Regions from separate parts of the Homo sapiens genome. Here regions 2, 3, 4 and 5 are each linked to region 1. The links are contacts of gene promoters, found by promoter capture Hi-C in human tissues and cell types (Jung and others, 2019). All regions are on one chromosome and are shown on one strand. Each heading gives the region's core, a stretch centred on a gene start or on the middle of the fragment in contact. The rest is flanking DNA. Distances are from core to core; before and after follow the strand shown.

Region 1 (2,946 bases), core at 292-2,791:
GCTAAACAGATGAGGAGTGGCAAGGCAGGACTTCTGGGAGCAAGGTTGGTCCCCTGGGAGTCCTGGGAGGGCTGAAAGGGGTTAAGTGTGAGTTAAAATGAGAGTGATGGACAAATGTCACTCTCCCAAGGGAGGCCCCCTTACTCCCTGTTTTATTTATTTATTTACTTATTTATTTTGAGACCGAGTCTTGCTTTGTTGCCCAGGCTGGAGTGCAGTGGCCAGGTAACAGCTCACTGCAGCTTTGAACTTCTGGGCTCAAGGGATCCTCCTGCCTCAGCCTCTTGAGTAGCTGGGACCACAGGCACGTGCCAACACGCCTGGCTAATTTTTTTTTTTTTTTTTTGCGACGGAGCTTTGTTCTTCTTGCCCAGGCTGGAGTGCAGTGGCGCAGTCTCGGCTCACTGCAACCTCCGCCTCCTTGATTCAAGCGATTCTCCTGCCTCAGCCTCCCGAGTAGCTGAGATTACAGGTATACGCCACCATGCCCGGCTAATTTTGTATTTTAGTAGAGACGGGGTTTCCTCATATTGGCCATGCTGTTCTCGAACTCCTGACCTCAGCTGATCTGCCTGCCTTGGCCTCTCAGTGTGCTGGGATTACAGGCGTGAGCCACCGCGCCCTGCCTAAACTAAAAAAAAATTTTTTTGTAGAGATAGGTTCTTGCTATGTTACCCAGGGTGGTCTCCAACTCCTGGGTTCAAGCGGTCCTCCCGCTTCCGCCTCCTAAAGTGTTTGGATTACAGGCGTGAGACATGGCGCCCGGCCTCTTACCTGTTTTAAATTGTCCTTTCTCTCCGCTGGCTCCTTGAGCCCCTTTCCTGCTTATTTTTCTCTCGTTAGAGTTTTTCACTACCTCACACATCATATATTTGCCTTATTTATTGAGTGTCTGTCTCCCCACCGTAGTATAAACTCCACGAGGGCAGGGATTCGTGCGTGTGGCTCACCGGCGGCTCTCCAGCGCCTGGACAGGGCTGACCCCCAGCAGGCGCTCTGTGAAGGTGTGCAGAGTGGGCGAAGGTGCATGCGCGGGCCGTGGGGCGGGGACAGGTGGAGGAGCCAGTCAGACCCAAGTGCAGCGGGACGAGGGCGAGGTTAATCTGAGCAAGAAAAGCGTAAATTCTGCTTATCTACAAATGTAAACAGTACTGTCGGCCAGACGCAGGGTCCGGGGCGGGTCGGCCCGGACTCAGGGTCTGCTTGGAGGCAGAGCTAGATTAGGGCGGGGTCGTCCTGTGGCCTACCATTCCCCGAGGCTGAGGGCCTTGGAGGGCGGGGCCAGTGAAGGGGGAGGGGACTTCCTGAGGTGTGACCAATCTAGAGAAAGGACTGGGCTGAGGGCGTGGTCAAACAAGCGACATCTAAAAATAAGGGGCGGGGCTAGAACCAGGGGGAGTTCGCCTGGGGCGGGGCCAGAGTGGGGCGGGACCAGTTAGGGGGCAGGGCCAACCTGGGCGGGGCCATGGCCGGGGACGTGGGCGGGACCAGGTCAGGGGCGGGGCCAGGCCAGGATCTCCGCTGTCCCGGGTCCTGGAGCTCTCTCGGCCCGGCAGGTTTCGCTCCCGCCCCTCCGGCCTTCCACAGCTGTCCTGGCCGCAGGGTGTTCAAGGCGGGACACACCAGGCTAGAGATCCGCGATCGGGCCCCGCCTCAGGTACTGCGCTCCAGGCCAGGCGGGCGCGGGTAAGCGCTCAGCTCCCGAGCCAGGCGGGCTTCCAGGGCACTTCCCCTAGGCTGCATTCCCAAAGGCTCCCGAGGGCGAGGGTGAGCAAAGCTGCGGGGACCTGTGTGTGCATGCGTGTGCGATTGCCTCTACGTGTGTGTACGTGTGTGTGCATGTGCGCACGGGTGTGTGTGCGTGTGTGCACGTCTGTGCACACCAGGGGAATTGCGTGCGTGGAGCTGGGCAGGTGCGTGTTTCAGGGTGTGTGTGCAAAGTTGGAGGCGTGTGCAAAAGCAGTCCCGTGTGGGAGGGAAACCTGCGTGTGTACATGTGTGTGATAGAGACAGTGCCTGTGAAATGTGGTGAAGGCTGTGTGTGTATGTCAGGGTGTCTGGGAGGAAAATGGGAGGGCAGGTGCAAGGAGACTCGGGGGTGGGCTGTAGGCCAGCAAGTCTGTGGCAAGCTGCGGGGTGCATGCGTGAATAGAACCGTGGGAGTGTAAGAATTGCAAATGTGTGTGTGTCTGTGTGGGTGGCCGTAAGGCTTCTGGGGGCCCTCAGTGTGAAGGGGTGGGGGTAGAGGAAAGTTTGGGGGTGCTGACTGCTCTTGGAAGGCTGAGCGTGGTCTGGGGCCATGGCTAATGACAGGGAAGCTGTTGGGGCTTGGCCTGGAGTAATTTGGGGGGAATATCAGCCTTCTCAATTTGAAGGCTGGGGAGCTGTGTGGGTGGGGCCAGGGGCTGCCCCTTACACTTGGTGGGTGGTGTCCCTGCTTCCCGAGGTGGGAGCTGCAACCTCACCAGTCACTCCTCGCCCCAGGCTCTGTGCACACCCCTGCCTGGTGACCTCCATTGGTGCTCCAGCGTGAACATGGTGCAAAGATACCAGTCTCCTGTCCGAGTCTACAAGTACCCGTTTGAGCTGGTCATGGCGGTGAGTGACTCCTGATTCTTGGGCCCCCATGTGACAGTTGGAGGGGCTTGAGATCAGCTATGGCGGTAGGAAGACGGAGCTCCTTAGACTCCCAGATCAGAAGGAATTAGTGAGTTACTCAGCTGACCTGGTGGGTTTAACTTCTATCCAGTGACCTCTCTGTCCAACCATCCTATCCTCGGCCCAGTGACCAAAACACAAAGTCTTTCTTCCTTCTCCTTGTTGAAGCTGACCTGCTCCCTTACTTTAGACTCTCCTGATAGAAAACAAAGGTATCAGGGGCCAAGCCACTGCTGTCATTTCATATAATGGCATATCACAGTGATAAATGGAATGGTGGTGATAATG
Region 2 (2,946 bases), core at 221-2,720, 450 kb before region 1:
GGGTTTTACCATGTTGGCCAGGCCGGTCTCGGACTCCTGACCTCCTGATCTGCCCACCTCGGCCTCCCAAAGTGTTGGGATTACAGGCGTGAGCCACCGCGCCCGGCTAGCAAAGCTGTACTTTTACCAAAAAAAAAAAAGAAAACATTTATAAATCAAGGTCTGAAGGCCCATGTGAGGCTTATTCTACAGCTTGCAATGCCTGTTTTTGCCCCTTGGTAAGTGGACGCACAGCTGGGCAGCCTTATGCTATCTCTGTGAACTACCCATTTCTGGCTTTGTTCATAATATTCCCTTGATCTGGAGGCCCTCCCCCAGCCCTGCCCCAAATCCTGTCTGTGTTGAGGGTCCTGCCCCAGGAAGCCCTCTGCATACTCTTCCCTGCATGTAATACCTGCCTGCTTTCACATTCTTCTAGACTGTGCTGTGCATCGTACAGTTCATCAGCATTATTGCAGAGTAGAGTGTCTCTGATTTGGAGTCAAGAGAAGGTTCCATTTTTCTGTACATCCCGATGTTTATTTTCTGAGTGTTCTCAGACATCACTAAGCCTCAGTCAAAATAAAGTATGATCATGATGTAACATTCATTGAGTGCTTATCACATGGTAGGCATTGTGCTATATGAGTTATTGCTTGACTTCCTAAAATAATCCCAGTAGAGATGCTAAATCTAAAGGTGAGAGAGATGGTTCAAAAAGACCTCAGTGAGCAAACCATGTACTATAATATCCTAAAAGATAACAAAAATGTAACTAGGTATCTAGAGAAAACTCAGGAAGGATATGTGCCTTGGGCCTTTTAAGGACCATTTCTTAACACTTCTGTGTTCTTCTTGACACCTGTTTCTGGGTAGAGCACATAGAAAATGCTCAGTAAATAAGTTCTTTTTCCTTGGCCCAGTTTGGCCTGATTTGGCCCCAGTTCTGTCTTTGTGAGTTACTTTATTAGTTGTCGGTGCTACTGTGCTGCTATTCATGTGGAAGATTCCCCAAATGGGCTGCGCCTTACATTGCCTGAGCAGAAGCCCCGAGGGATGGAGGATGAGCTTGCCTTGTTATGGGACTGTGTTTCCCTGGCTGACAAAGGCTCAGCATTTGCAGCAGGCAATGGGAATTGATTGGCCAACTTAATATTTCCTTCAGCCTAGCAAAGTCCTGAGTAGGCTAGGGACAGTCTGCTTTTTTGGTAACTCCTGTAGGCTGCCTTCTGCACAAGGCACCCAGCCTCTCACAGGTAGGATGAACTGGCCTCAGCACGCTTGCAGAGGGGTGGAACTGTGCGTTGCTTGCCAAGCTTTTTGTTTCCCTAAGGTTTTTGAGGTTTTCTTTGTTTTTGGTAACTTTCAATTTTTTTTTTTTTTTTTTTTTTTTGGACAGAGTTTCACTCTTATTGCCCAGGCTGGAGTGCAGTGGCGCGATCTTGGCTCACTGCAACTTCTGCTTCGTAGGTTCAAGTGATTCTCCTGCCTCAGCCTCCTGAGTAGCTGGGATTACAGGCACGCGCCACCACATCCGGCTAATTTTGCATTTTTAGTAGAAACAGGGTTTCTCCATGTTGGTCAGGCTGGTCTTAAACTCCTAACCTCAGGTGATCCACCCACCTTGGCCTCCCAAAGTGGTGGGATTACAGGCATGAGCCACCGTGTCTGGCCTAACTTTTAATTTTGATACGGTCTTTTTTTTTTTTTTTTTTTTTTTTTTAAGACAGTTTCGCTCTTGTTGCCCAGGCTGGAGTGCAACGGCGTGATCTCGGCTCACTGCAACCTCTGCCTCCTGGGCTCAAGAGATTCTCCTGCCTGAGCCTCCCGAGTAGCTGGGATTACAAGTGTGCACCACCATGCCCGGCTATTTTTTGTATTTTTAGTAGAGACAGGGTTTCACCATGTTAACCAGGCTAGTCTCAAACTCCAGTCTGCCTCGGCCTCCCAAAGTGCTGGGATTACAGGCATGAGCCACTGTGCCCTGCCTTGATACAGTTTTAAGCATACAGAAAAATGGTAAGAATAGTACAAAGAACTCTCATACCTCTTCCCCAGATTCACTGCTAGGATTTTGCCTTGTTTGCTTTTCTGACTTGCCAGTGTCCCCCACCCTGCAGCATATGCACATGCACACACACTGTCTTCTGAACCATCTGACAGGGAGTTGCAGGCAGTGTACCTTTACTTCTGAATACCCCAGTGTGTATTTCTTAGGAACAAAGACATTCTCTTATATAATCGCAGTACAATTATTTTTAAAAACCAGCAAGCTTAATGTCAATACAATGCTATTACCTAATACATTGTTCATATTCAGATTTTTTCCATATTCCACTATGGTCCCAGTAATGGCAGAGCTTTATTTTAAAGAAAACAATCCTGGGGTGTGTGGGTGTCACCTTGGTTACATTCGCTCTGAGGAAAGCAGAACCGACAGGTATTTGGGGAAGTGACTGCCGTGGGTGCCACATCACCAGCTCCTTGTGTCTCTGCAGGACCAGAGGAGCGAGAGCAGCAAGAACCACACCCAGCAGCAATGTCAGCGGAAGTGGAAACCTCAGAGGGGGTAGACGAGTCAGAAAAAAAGAACTCTGGGGCCCTAGAAAAGGAGAACCAAATGAGGTGAGCGATGGGGGCTGGCTGCACTGAATCAGGTGGGCCCAGCACCTGTCGTGCTCAGCACACCTGGTTTTGTCTGTTGGCAGCACTGGGGAGTGGCCATGGGCCATGAGCTCTGGACCCCTGGGTGCCTGCTTGGCCCTGCAGGGACCGCATACAGCTTCGGCTGCTTAGAACTCTCCCCACTGGTCCATTGTCTCATCCAAGGAGGCAGGGCAGGTGCTCCTGGGAGTGCTGATAGGATTTGATGGTAGTTATCCTTTTTTCTTTTTAAAAACTTGTGCGTTTCCTCATCTGGGCTGAGAAAGGGTAAACGCAGGCAAAGCTGGCTCTGTTCAGTCTTTT
Region 3 (2,946 bases), core at 239-2,738, 420 kb before region 1:
CTGTAAAATTCCTTCAACTTTTGTATGTTTCACGTTTTTCGTAACTGAATGTGTAGAGGGGGAGTCTTCTGAGACTGGCAAGTGACTGGGCATAACCTTTCCGATTAAGGGCAGAGGGCAAGGCAGAGCTGGCACGCCTCCCTCCACCCAGTTCTACCTAGATCGGCCCCAAGGGAAGCAGCAAAGAACCCAGGAGAGCAGTAACTTGCCCGGGCACCGCCCCGCCCAGCATCAGGCCCCAGAATACAGAAGAAACTGGCAGAAACACTATGGAACGTCCCTGCCCCCGGGCCCGCCAACCCCCTCACTGGGACAGGTTCTCAGCCCCAGCTGCGCCCGGGAATGATCTGGGGAGCCTACTAAATGCAGATTCCTGGGCAGCGCGACGGAACTACAGCATCCCAACACCTGGGGTGGGCCCCAGGAATCTGCCCGTTTCCCAAGAGCCCCAGGTGGTTCTGACGCAGAGGATCTTGAGCCCACCTTTGGAGGAACTCACAGCCACTCGCCCCACCTCATCTAACACCTGTTGAGAAGCCCCCCAAGGAACTCGCTAAGCCAAGGTCCTCGAAGGCGCGACTCCTAGCCCCAAGCTAGGCCAGGCCGTCGCCATCTCCGCCGGGGATGCGCGGCCGAGCGCCACATCCCGACTCCACACGTCGGCGAGCCGGGCGCGGGTGCAGGACACTGCTGGGCTCCGGGACGGCCAAGGTCACCCGCGGGGCTCGGCAGGGGCTGGCTCGGCCACGGGGCTCCTCCTCGACCCCCTTTCCTTGAGAAAACAACTCCCACCCCTCCCCTCCCCGTCTCGCCCTGCAAGACGGAGATGGCAATTTCCACAACCTTCCCTGACGGAAAAACGTGCGGGCGAGCAGGCTGCCATTCCGGGCGCACAACCCCGCGGCACACAGCGGGGCGCCCGCCCGGGCCCCGCCACCGCAGCGGCTTCGACATCCCCAGGGCCGCGCTAGGTCTCGGCAGCGCCCTGAGGGGAGGACGGGCCCCGCCATGCCGCGCCCCAACCGCCGGCCCCGCTTTACCTCCAGAAGCCCGGTGCCCGAGGCCGGCCGAAAGCGGAGAGGGGCCCGGGTCCGGACAGGCGCCGGCAGAACAAGACCCTCAGCCCCGCGCGGCTTTGCGCGCACAACGAAACCCCCCAACCCACCGCCCACCCCACCGCCCAGAGGCTTCTAGGACTTGTAGTCCGCCCGGTCACCCCCCCCACCACAACCCGCTCTGAGAGGCTGGGGACTACGGTGCCCGGCATGCACCGCCCAGGCGCCGCGGGCGGGGGCGGGGAGGGGGCGCCACGGTCCGAGGTCACGCCCCGACCTGAGGAGAGCTGGCGCCCAGACCCTTCCCCCGGGGAGGAGGGCTCCCGCGCGAAGCCGTCTCCGAATGCGTCCAGTCGACTCACCGTCCCCGCAGCCCTGGGGCAGCGGCCGCAACAGCAGGACCGAACGCCTCGGCAGCTGGCAGTCGCACTTCTGTCACAAGGAGGCGGGTAGACTTTGGACCAGGGCCGAGGCCCGGGACGTCACGGTGGGGGGTGGGGTCTCGGGAGGCACGTGATGCGCCGTGATGACGTCAGTGGGAGCGGAGGCGATTTGGCCTAGAGCTGGGGCTGAGCACGTGGGATGGTCGGGGCCTGTTTGCCCAATGTACACGAGGCTGGAGAATAGGGAAAGAACCGTCCCTGTGAGCGCCTCCTCTTCACTCATGCCAGCAACAGGGCAGGGCATCTTCCTCCAGGGCTGCATTTTTTCTTTTATGCGACTAATATTTATTGAGTTTGGGAGGTGCATTACATAAAACCTTGAACCACACGGTCACTGTCCCTGCGCTTGAAACTGCCTTTGCAAAAATTACAACAGAAAATTATGACAGTGAAAGAGAGCTGACCTAACCCACTCCATCTTGCTTCTAACCTCCAGGTTGTCCTTGTTCATTCCTAGGCATAGGCAGAACTAACTTTGGGAGCAACTTAGTTTATAGTTTAATATTGAAACAAAGATAGTTAACAGCCCTTTCCCAAAACAAACCCCCTTGTTGCCTGAGAACCAGGCTTCCTTTGTAAGAGTAACACGTTAGCTACAAGATTAGACATTATAGTTTAGGGCCCAGCTCAGTGGCTAACGCCTGTAATCCCAGCACTTTGGAAGGCTGACGCAGGTGGATCACTTGAGGTCAGGAGTTTGAGACCAGCCTGGCCAACATGGTGAAACCATGTCTCTATTTAAAAATACAAAAATTAGCCGGGTATGGTGGCACGCACCTGTAATCCCAACTACTAGGGAGGCTGAAGCCCAAAAATTGCTTGAACCCGAGAGATGGAGGTTGCAGTGAGCTGAGATTATGCCTCTGCACTCCAGCCTGAGCAAGAGACTGAGACTCCATCTCAAAAAAAGAAAGAAAGAAAGAAATTACGGTTTAGGAGTCATGCACCCAGAGGCCACAAGATTCTAAACCTCCCCAGTTGATCCTAGGTATAATATCACTATTGTAAAACCTAAGATTGGTACTCTTAGGTGTTTTTCTGACCCTGCAGTCTGATGCACCAGCCAAGGCCACCTAGAGCTGTAATCTGACTCAACCAGTTCTTGCATCCTTCAACACCCTGTGATTTCATCTCCCACCCCACCAATCAGCACTCCCTACTCCTTGGCAGCTTATCTACCAAATTACCCTTTAAAAACTCTAGGCTCTGAATTTCCAGGGAGACTGATTTGAGTAATGAAACTTTGGTCTCCCATTCAGCCAGCTCTGTGTGGATTAAACTCTTTCTCTATTGCAGTTCCCCTGTCTTGATACATTGGCTCTATCTGGGCAGCCAGGAAGAAGAACCCACTGGGTGGCTACTTGCTCAGGTACTTCCTTTGTTACAGACAGTATACAAGGAAACCACAAAATGCCCAGGACTGTGAAGGAGAGGAAGGGACGCCCTAA
Region 4 (2,946 bases), core at 1-2,500, 400 kb before region 1:
CCATCTCCACTAAAAATATAAAAATTAGCTGGGCGTGGTGGCAGGCGCCTGTGATCCCAGCTACTCAGGAGGCTGAGGCAGGAGAATCGCTTGAACCCAGGAGGCGGAGGTTGCAGTGAGCGGAGATCGCGCCACTGCACTCCTGCCTGGGTAACAGAGAAAGACTTTGTCACACACACTACACACACACACACACACACACACACACACACACACACACACGAGAAAATGGAACACTGTGGGGGGCCTTTGGATGCGTCCAGAAATGAATGTAGTTCTTCAGATTCTTTTTTTTTTCTTTTGAGACGGAGTCTCGCTCTGTCGCCCAGGCTGGAGTGCAGTGGCACGATCTTGGCTCACTGAAACCTCCACCTCCCGGATTTAAGCAATTCTCTGCCTCAGCCTCCAGAGTAGCTGGGATTACAGGCACGTGCCACCACGCCTGGCTGATTTTTGTATTTTTAGTAGAGGCGGAGTTTCACCGTCTTGGCCAGGCTAGTCTTGAATTCCTGACCCCGTGGTCCACCCGCCTTGGCCTCCCAGAGTGCTGGGATTACATATGTCAGCCACTGTGCCCGGCCTTTTCTCTTTTCTTTTTCTTTTCTTTTCTTTTTTTTTTTTTTTTTGAGGCAAGGTCTCACTCTGTTGCCCAGGCTAAGTGCAGTGGCACAATCATAGCTCACTGTAGCCTCAAACTCCTGGCTTCAAGCAATCCTCCCACCCCATCCTCCTGAGTAGCTGGGACTACAGATGTGCGCCAGCACATCCAGCTAATTACAAATTTTTTTTTGTAGAAACAGGGTCTCACTATGTTGCCCAGGCTGCTCTCGAACTCCTGGCTTCAAGCAGTCCTCCCGCCTTTGCCTCCCCAAAGTGCTGGGATTACAGGCCTGAACCCCCACACCCACCCAGCCAGTACTTCAGATTCTTATCTCTTTGTAAAACCTGGGTCTTCCTAACTCCAAGAAACCTGTCTTCTGCCCGGATTCGAGAAAATTCCAAGGAGGGAGCTGCCTCTCCATCCCTTCCATATGTGCTTCTAGGAAAAAGTTACCAGTCTCACATCACCAGAGGGCTTGAATGAAGAGGCTGCCATCAGCTATTCAAACATTCATCCAATATTAACTGAGCACCTACTCTGGGTGAGGCTTACCAGGGAGCACCTGCCCCACTCCAGACTTTGAATTGCGCCCGTTTCATCACATTCTTTGGTGTCCTGGCAACCAGAGACTCTGATCTGAGCTCCAGCCAGAACAGAGGCCATTCCTCCCTGACTGCTGTGACTCACCACCACCCCAGGCCTCTGAGGACCAGTCCATGTAGCTCTCGGAACCACTGAAAGCTACCCCTTGTCCTTGAGGACACCTGGAACCCCAGCCCCACTGACCCACCCTGGCAGGATGAGCTTCTCACTCACGTTCACCGAGCTGGCCAACATCGCCATCCCACAGTGCGGGGTGCTGAACTTCAAGGCCCTGCACCTCCTGCTGCACGGCATCTTGGAGCACATCCACATGGCCGAGCTCAAGAAAGTCCTCTCAGGCGATGAGGACTTCCTGCAGACCTCGCAGGTGGTCATCATGCCCAGGGAAGGAGACGCCCAGCCTATCCTCAACCCCATGAAGAGGCTCAGCAATGTCTTCGACCACGTGGTGAGCCGCCTCGACAAGTTGGAGAACCAGCTGGCCCTGCTGCAGGACCTGCCCTCCACTGCCCAGCTGCTGGAAGCCAGCCAGGGCACTGCCCGGCCCGTCCAGGACCTGTGGCATCTGATCAAGCTCCGGAAGATGGTGGAGGGTCATGATGAAGTCATGGCCAAGGTACGCCCCCAGCCTCCAGACACTTCTTTTCCTCCCTTCACCACTGGCTCTCTCCTGGGACGTCTTTTTTTTGTTTTTGAGACTCCGTCTCGCTCTGTCACCCAGGCTGGAGTGCAGTGGTGTGATCTTGGCTCACTGCAACCTCCGCCTCCCGGGTTCAAGTGATTCTCCTGCCTCAGCCTCCCTAGTAGCTAGGATTTCAGGCACATGCCACCACACCCGGCTAATTTTTGTATTTTTAGTAGAGATGGGGTTTCACTATGTTGGCCAGGCTGGTCTCAAACCCCTGATCTCAACTGATCCACCTGCCTCGGCTTCCTAAAGTGCTGGGATGACAAGCGTGAGCCACTGCGCCCAGCCTTCTCCTGGGACATCTTGTTGCTTACTCACCTACGATGGGCCATCTCCTTATGCAGAGTGGGAAGAAGGGTGCTTTAGAGTCAGGCACAACCAAAACGCCAAGCTTGCAGCCTCCATCAAGTATTGCAAAGAAGCCAGACACAAAAGGCTACCCAGTGTATGATTCCATTTATACGAAATGTCCAGAATAGGTAAATCCATGGAGACAGAAAGCAGTGGTTGCCAGGGGCTTGGAGGAGGAGAGAATGGGGAGTAATTGCTTTGTGGATATAGGGTTTCCTTTTGGGGTGATGAAAATGTTTTGGAACTAGATGGAGGTGGTAGTTATACAACCTCACTGATGTACTAAATGACACTGAATTGTTCACTTAAAAATGGCTAATTGTACATTATGTGAATTTCACCCCAATTTTTTTTTGAGACAGGGTGTCACTCTGTCATCCAGGCTGGAGTGCAGTGACTCAGTCATGGCTCACTGTAGCCTCGACCTCCCAGACTCAAGCAATCCTCCCACCTCAACCTCCCGAGTAACTGGGACCACAGGTGTGCACCACTGCACCTGGCTAATTTTTGTATTGTTTGTAGAGATAGGGTCTCCTTATGTTGCCCAGGCTGGACTCAAACTCCTAGGCTCAAGTGATCCTCCTGCTTTGGCCTCCCAAAGTGCTGGGATTAGAAGCGTGAGCTACTGTGCTCAGCCTTACCCCAATTTCTAAAAAATGCCTGGAGGAGCTACCATGGGAGAAGTACCAGAGTAGTCACGGTG
Region 5 (2,946 bases), core at 167-2,666, 310 kb before region 1:
ATCCCAGCTACTCGGGAGGCTGAGGCAGAAGAATCGCTTGAACCCGGTGGGCGGAGCTTGCAGTGAGCTGAGATAGCGCCACTGCACTCCAGCCTGGGTGGAGCGCCACTGCACTCTAGCCTGAGACTCTGTCTCAAAAAAAAAAAAAAAAAATCTATAATCGTGTTTCCTTTTTTAAACAGGAAACTACTTTGCTTCGCACTTTTTCATGGGAGGAGAGAAATTCGACACCCCCCACCCTGAAGGTTACCTCTTTGGAGAGAACATGGATCTGAACTTCCTGGGCAGCCGCCCGGTCCAGGTGGGTCTGGACAGGGCTGTCTCATGGGGCTGTGGGGGTGGGAGGCCCCTGTCCCCAGCAGTCCGCATCCCAGCCATGAGGGCAAGCAGGCACCAAATCACCCCTAAAGGGGGCAGAGCTCCTGGCAGGATTCCAGTTGAGCTTGGGTGTGGGCACGTGCCCTGGAATGGGTTGTGTCCTGGTGCTGCCCCCTAGAGGCCAGATGGCCAGGGGCAGGTCACTGAGAAACAGAGCAGCCATACTGAATGGGTGCGTCTGGGCTGCAACGGCTGCGGAACATGGTGGATTTGATTCCAGCCTTCTTGGATGACTTTCTTTACAAGGCAAAAATAGTATTTACAGACTGGGCATTGTGGCTCACGCCTGTAATCCCAGCACTTGGGGAGGCTGAGGCGGGCAGATCACCTGAGGTCAGGAGTTTGAGACAAGCCTGGCCAAAATGGTGAAACCCCGTCTCTACTGAAAAAAAAGAAAAATTAGCCGGGTGTGGTGGCACGTGCCTGTAATCCCAACTACTCGGGAGGCTGAGGCAGGAGAATCACTTGAATCTGAGAGGCGGAGGTGGCAGTGAGCCGAGATTGCACCACTACACTCCAGACTGGGCAACAAAGGGAGACTGTCTCAAAGAAAAAAAAAAAAAAGAATATTTACTTTCCCTAGAACAGTGGGCAAGAGACATGGTCCAAAGGAGAGATGCAGACAGCTGGCTAACATCTTCCCCTCGTTGCCAGAGAAGGGCACATTCGAGTACTGTCATAGTACTCGAGTACTGTGAGCTGTCTGTTCAGCACACATGTGGCACCTGCTGCGTGCCTAGTGCTCTTCCAGGGCTTGGGGTGAAAGCAGACCCTGCCTCTGCTACCTGGTGGGGGCGTAGACAATTAATACGGGACAAATGGGTAGAAGAGAGAAGGGGCAGAAAGGGAGGCTCTACTGGAGAGGCCATGGCTGAACCAAGCCATGATAGGTGGGAAGGGGGCCCCTCCAGAAGAAGCTAGAAGGCAGGGGGCCTGGGAACAGAGGAAGAGGTGAGAGGGTGCAGGCCTCAGGGGACAGGAGGCCGGAAGAGCCAGTAAACTTTGGGGGCCCTGGGGCGGGTTGCTGAGCTGTGCTCGTAGGAAGCTTTGGGGATGGAAAGGGTGGGGACTGAGGAAGGGGCTGAGGGTGCTCGGGGCAGTGATGGATATGGGAAGCCTGGGAGAGCAGGTTGGGGATGGGCAGCCCCAGCGTGCAGGGGTCTGGCGTTGAGGCTGCCTGGCTGGATTTGCTCAGGGTGATTTGGTCCTGGCCGTTGCGTGTGCTGGCTGCGTGGCCTGCAGCTTCTACCTGTAAATGAGAACAGTGCACCCAGTATAGCCCCTCCCATGGGACTAGATCCCAGGGATACCCTCTGGGGCTGTGGCTGCTGCACCCTGACCCGTTTTCTGTTGTTGGCTGCTCCTGAGGGAGTCACCTGGGGCCCTGTGGTTTTTCTCCTAGTTTCCCTACGTCACTCCTGCCCCCCACGAGCCCGTGAAGACGCTGCGGAGCCTGGTGAACATCCGCAAAGACTCCCTGCGGCTGGTGAGGTAACTTCACCCTGCCCCTGGGGACCCTGTGGCTCTGTGGGGCGCAGCCTGTGGTGGAGGTTCTGGCTTGATGCTTGAGGAAAAGGGCAGGCGGGAGGGGCCCCAGTTTCTGCGCCCTCCCGTGTGGAATGAGAGGCTGTCCTGGGCTGAGCGAGGGAAAGGGCATGTGGAACAAGAGCCGTTTAGCCAGGGCTTCTCAGCTGTGCCGCACAGGGACCCTGGGCAGTGTCTGGAGGCAGCCAGGTGGGGTGCTTGGCATCTCAGGTGGGTGCCAGGGGTGCTGCAGACTTCCTGCCATGCACAGGACGGCCCCCCCACAGACAGGAATGACCCAGCACCAGATTTCAGCAGGTTCAGAAACTGCTTAAACCGACTAGACTTGAGGCATCTGGGGCTGTCTCTGAACCAAAAGCACGTACCCCGTCTTCTGTGGGCAGGAAGAAGGAGAGGCAAGCCCTGGACCACTGGGCTTTCATGTACAAATAGGAAACAGCCCCTATGTCTACTGGAGAAGCGGGCTGTGTCCACATAGCCACCTCCACGGCCCCTCAGCCTGGCAGGGGAGGAGGCAGCCTCCGCAGATGGGGCCGCTGACCCGCTGCCTTTCTCTCCACCGCCTGGGGTAGGTACAAAGACGATGCCGACAGCCCCACCGAGGACGGCGACAAGCCCCGGGTGCTCTACAGCCTGGAGTTCACCTTCGACGCCGATGCCCGCGTGGCCATCACCATCTACTGCCAGGCATCGGAGGAGTTCCTGAACGGCAGGGCAGTGTGAGTCCCGCGGGCGGCTGGCACCGGCCTGGCTGGGGGCCCCAGACTCCTGGGGGAGGCTTCTGTCCACCTTACTAACCAGAGGGAGAAAACCAAACCGTGCTCTTTGACCATACTCCCAGGACTTTACCACGATGTGAGGGGTTTCTCCCACCCCAGGGACTCCCCACTTTTCTGCGGGAACCAGCTGGGGTCCTTTGACTGGTTTCAGTTCCAACGCTGCCTGGAGGTCATGCAACCCCTGCACTTTGAGGGCCCAGTCCCACAAGACTGCCCCACTTCAGATGCCACTCATAAGCCCCCG

What was found. Contacts are between HindIII fragments. The study calls those that stand out against the background at their distance.
Region 2: a contact is called between a fragment that was not itself captured here and the fragment with the promoter of SEC14L5 in region 1, in 1 of the 25 tissues and cell types used here (hippocampus).
Region 3: a contact is called between the fragment with the promoter of CDIP1 here and the fragment with the promoter of SEC14L5 in region 1, in 1 of the 25 tissues and cell types used here (neural progenitor cells).
Region 4: a contact is called between the fragment with the promoter of C16orf96 here and the fragment with the promoter of SEC14L5 in region 1, in 1 of the 25 tissues and cell types used here (mesenchymal stem cells).
Region 5: a fragment that was not itself captured here is called in contact with the fragment with the promoter of SEC14L5 in region 1 in 1 of the 25 tissues and cell types used here (dorsolateral prefrontal cortex).

What each region holds. Positions count from the first base shown.
Region 1 is chr16:4,956,789-4,959,734 of GRCh38, forward strand. It overlaps SEC14L5 (SEC14 like lipid binding 5), which reads left to right and starts at 1,542. Exons shown (of 16, transcript NM_014692.2): 1 at 1,542-1,657; 2 at 2,485-2,598. The coding sequence starts at 2,536. RefSeq lists silencers at 1,427-1,636, 1,435-1,730 and an enhancer at 1,534-2,069. The HindIII fragment of the contact is 18,853 bases long and covers 1-2,946 here.
Region 2 is chr16:4,503,007-4,505,952 of GRCh38, forward strand. HMOX2 (heme oxygenase 2) reads left to right here. Exons shown (of 6, transcript NM_002134.4): 2 at 2,478-2,604. The coding sequence starts at 2,519. Among named protein-coding and RNA genes, the nearest start is that of HMOX2, 28 kb to the left of the region's middle. The HindIII fragment of the contact is 3,869 bases long and covers 1-2,946 here.
Region 3 is chr16:4,537,285-4,540,230 of GRCh38, forward strand. CDIP1 (cell death inducing p53 target 1) reads right to left here and starts at 1,489. Exons shown (of 6, transcript NM_013399.3): 1 at 1,418-1,489. It also overlaps a transcript of C16orf96 not described here. RefSeq lists silencers at 886-1,105, 1,116-1,405. The HindIII fragment of the contact is 9,452 bases long and covers 1-2,946 here.
Region 4 is chr16:4,555,090-4,558,035 of GRCh38, forward strand. C16orf96 (chromosome 16 open reading frame 96) reads left to right here and starts at 1,251. Exons shown (of 16, transcript NM_001145011.2): 1 at 1,251-1,820. The coding sequence starts at 1,401. The HindIII fragment of the contact is 10,803 bases long and covers 1-2,946 here.
Region 5 is chr16:4,650,183-4,653,128 of GRCh38, forward strand. MGRN1 (mahogunin ring finger 1) reads left to right here. Exons shown (of 17, transcript NM_015246.4): 2 at 183-301; 3 at 1,781-1,869; 4 at 2,496-2,642. Among named protein-coding and RNA genes, the nearest start is that of MIR6769A, 20 kb to the right of the region's middle. The HindIII fragment of the contact is 6,104 bases long and covers 1-2,946 here.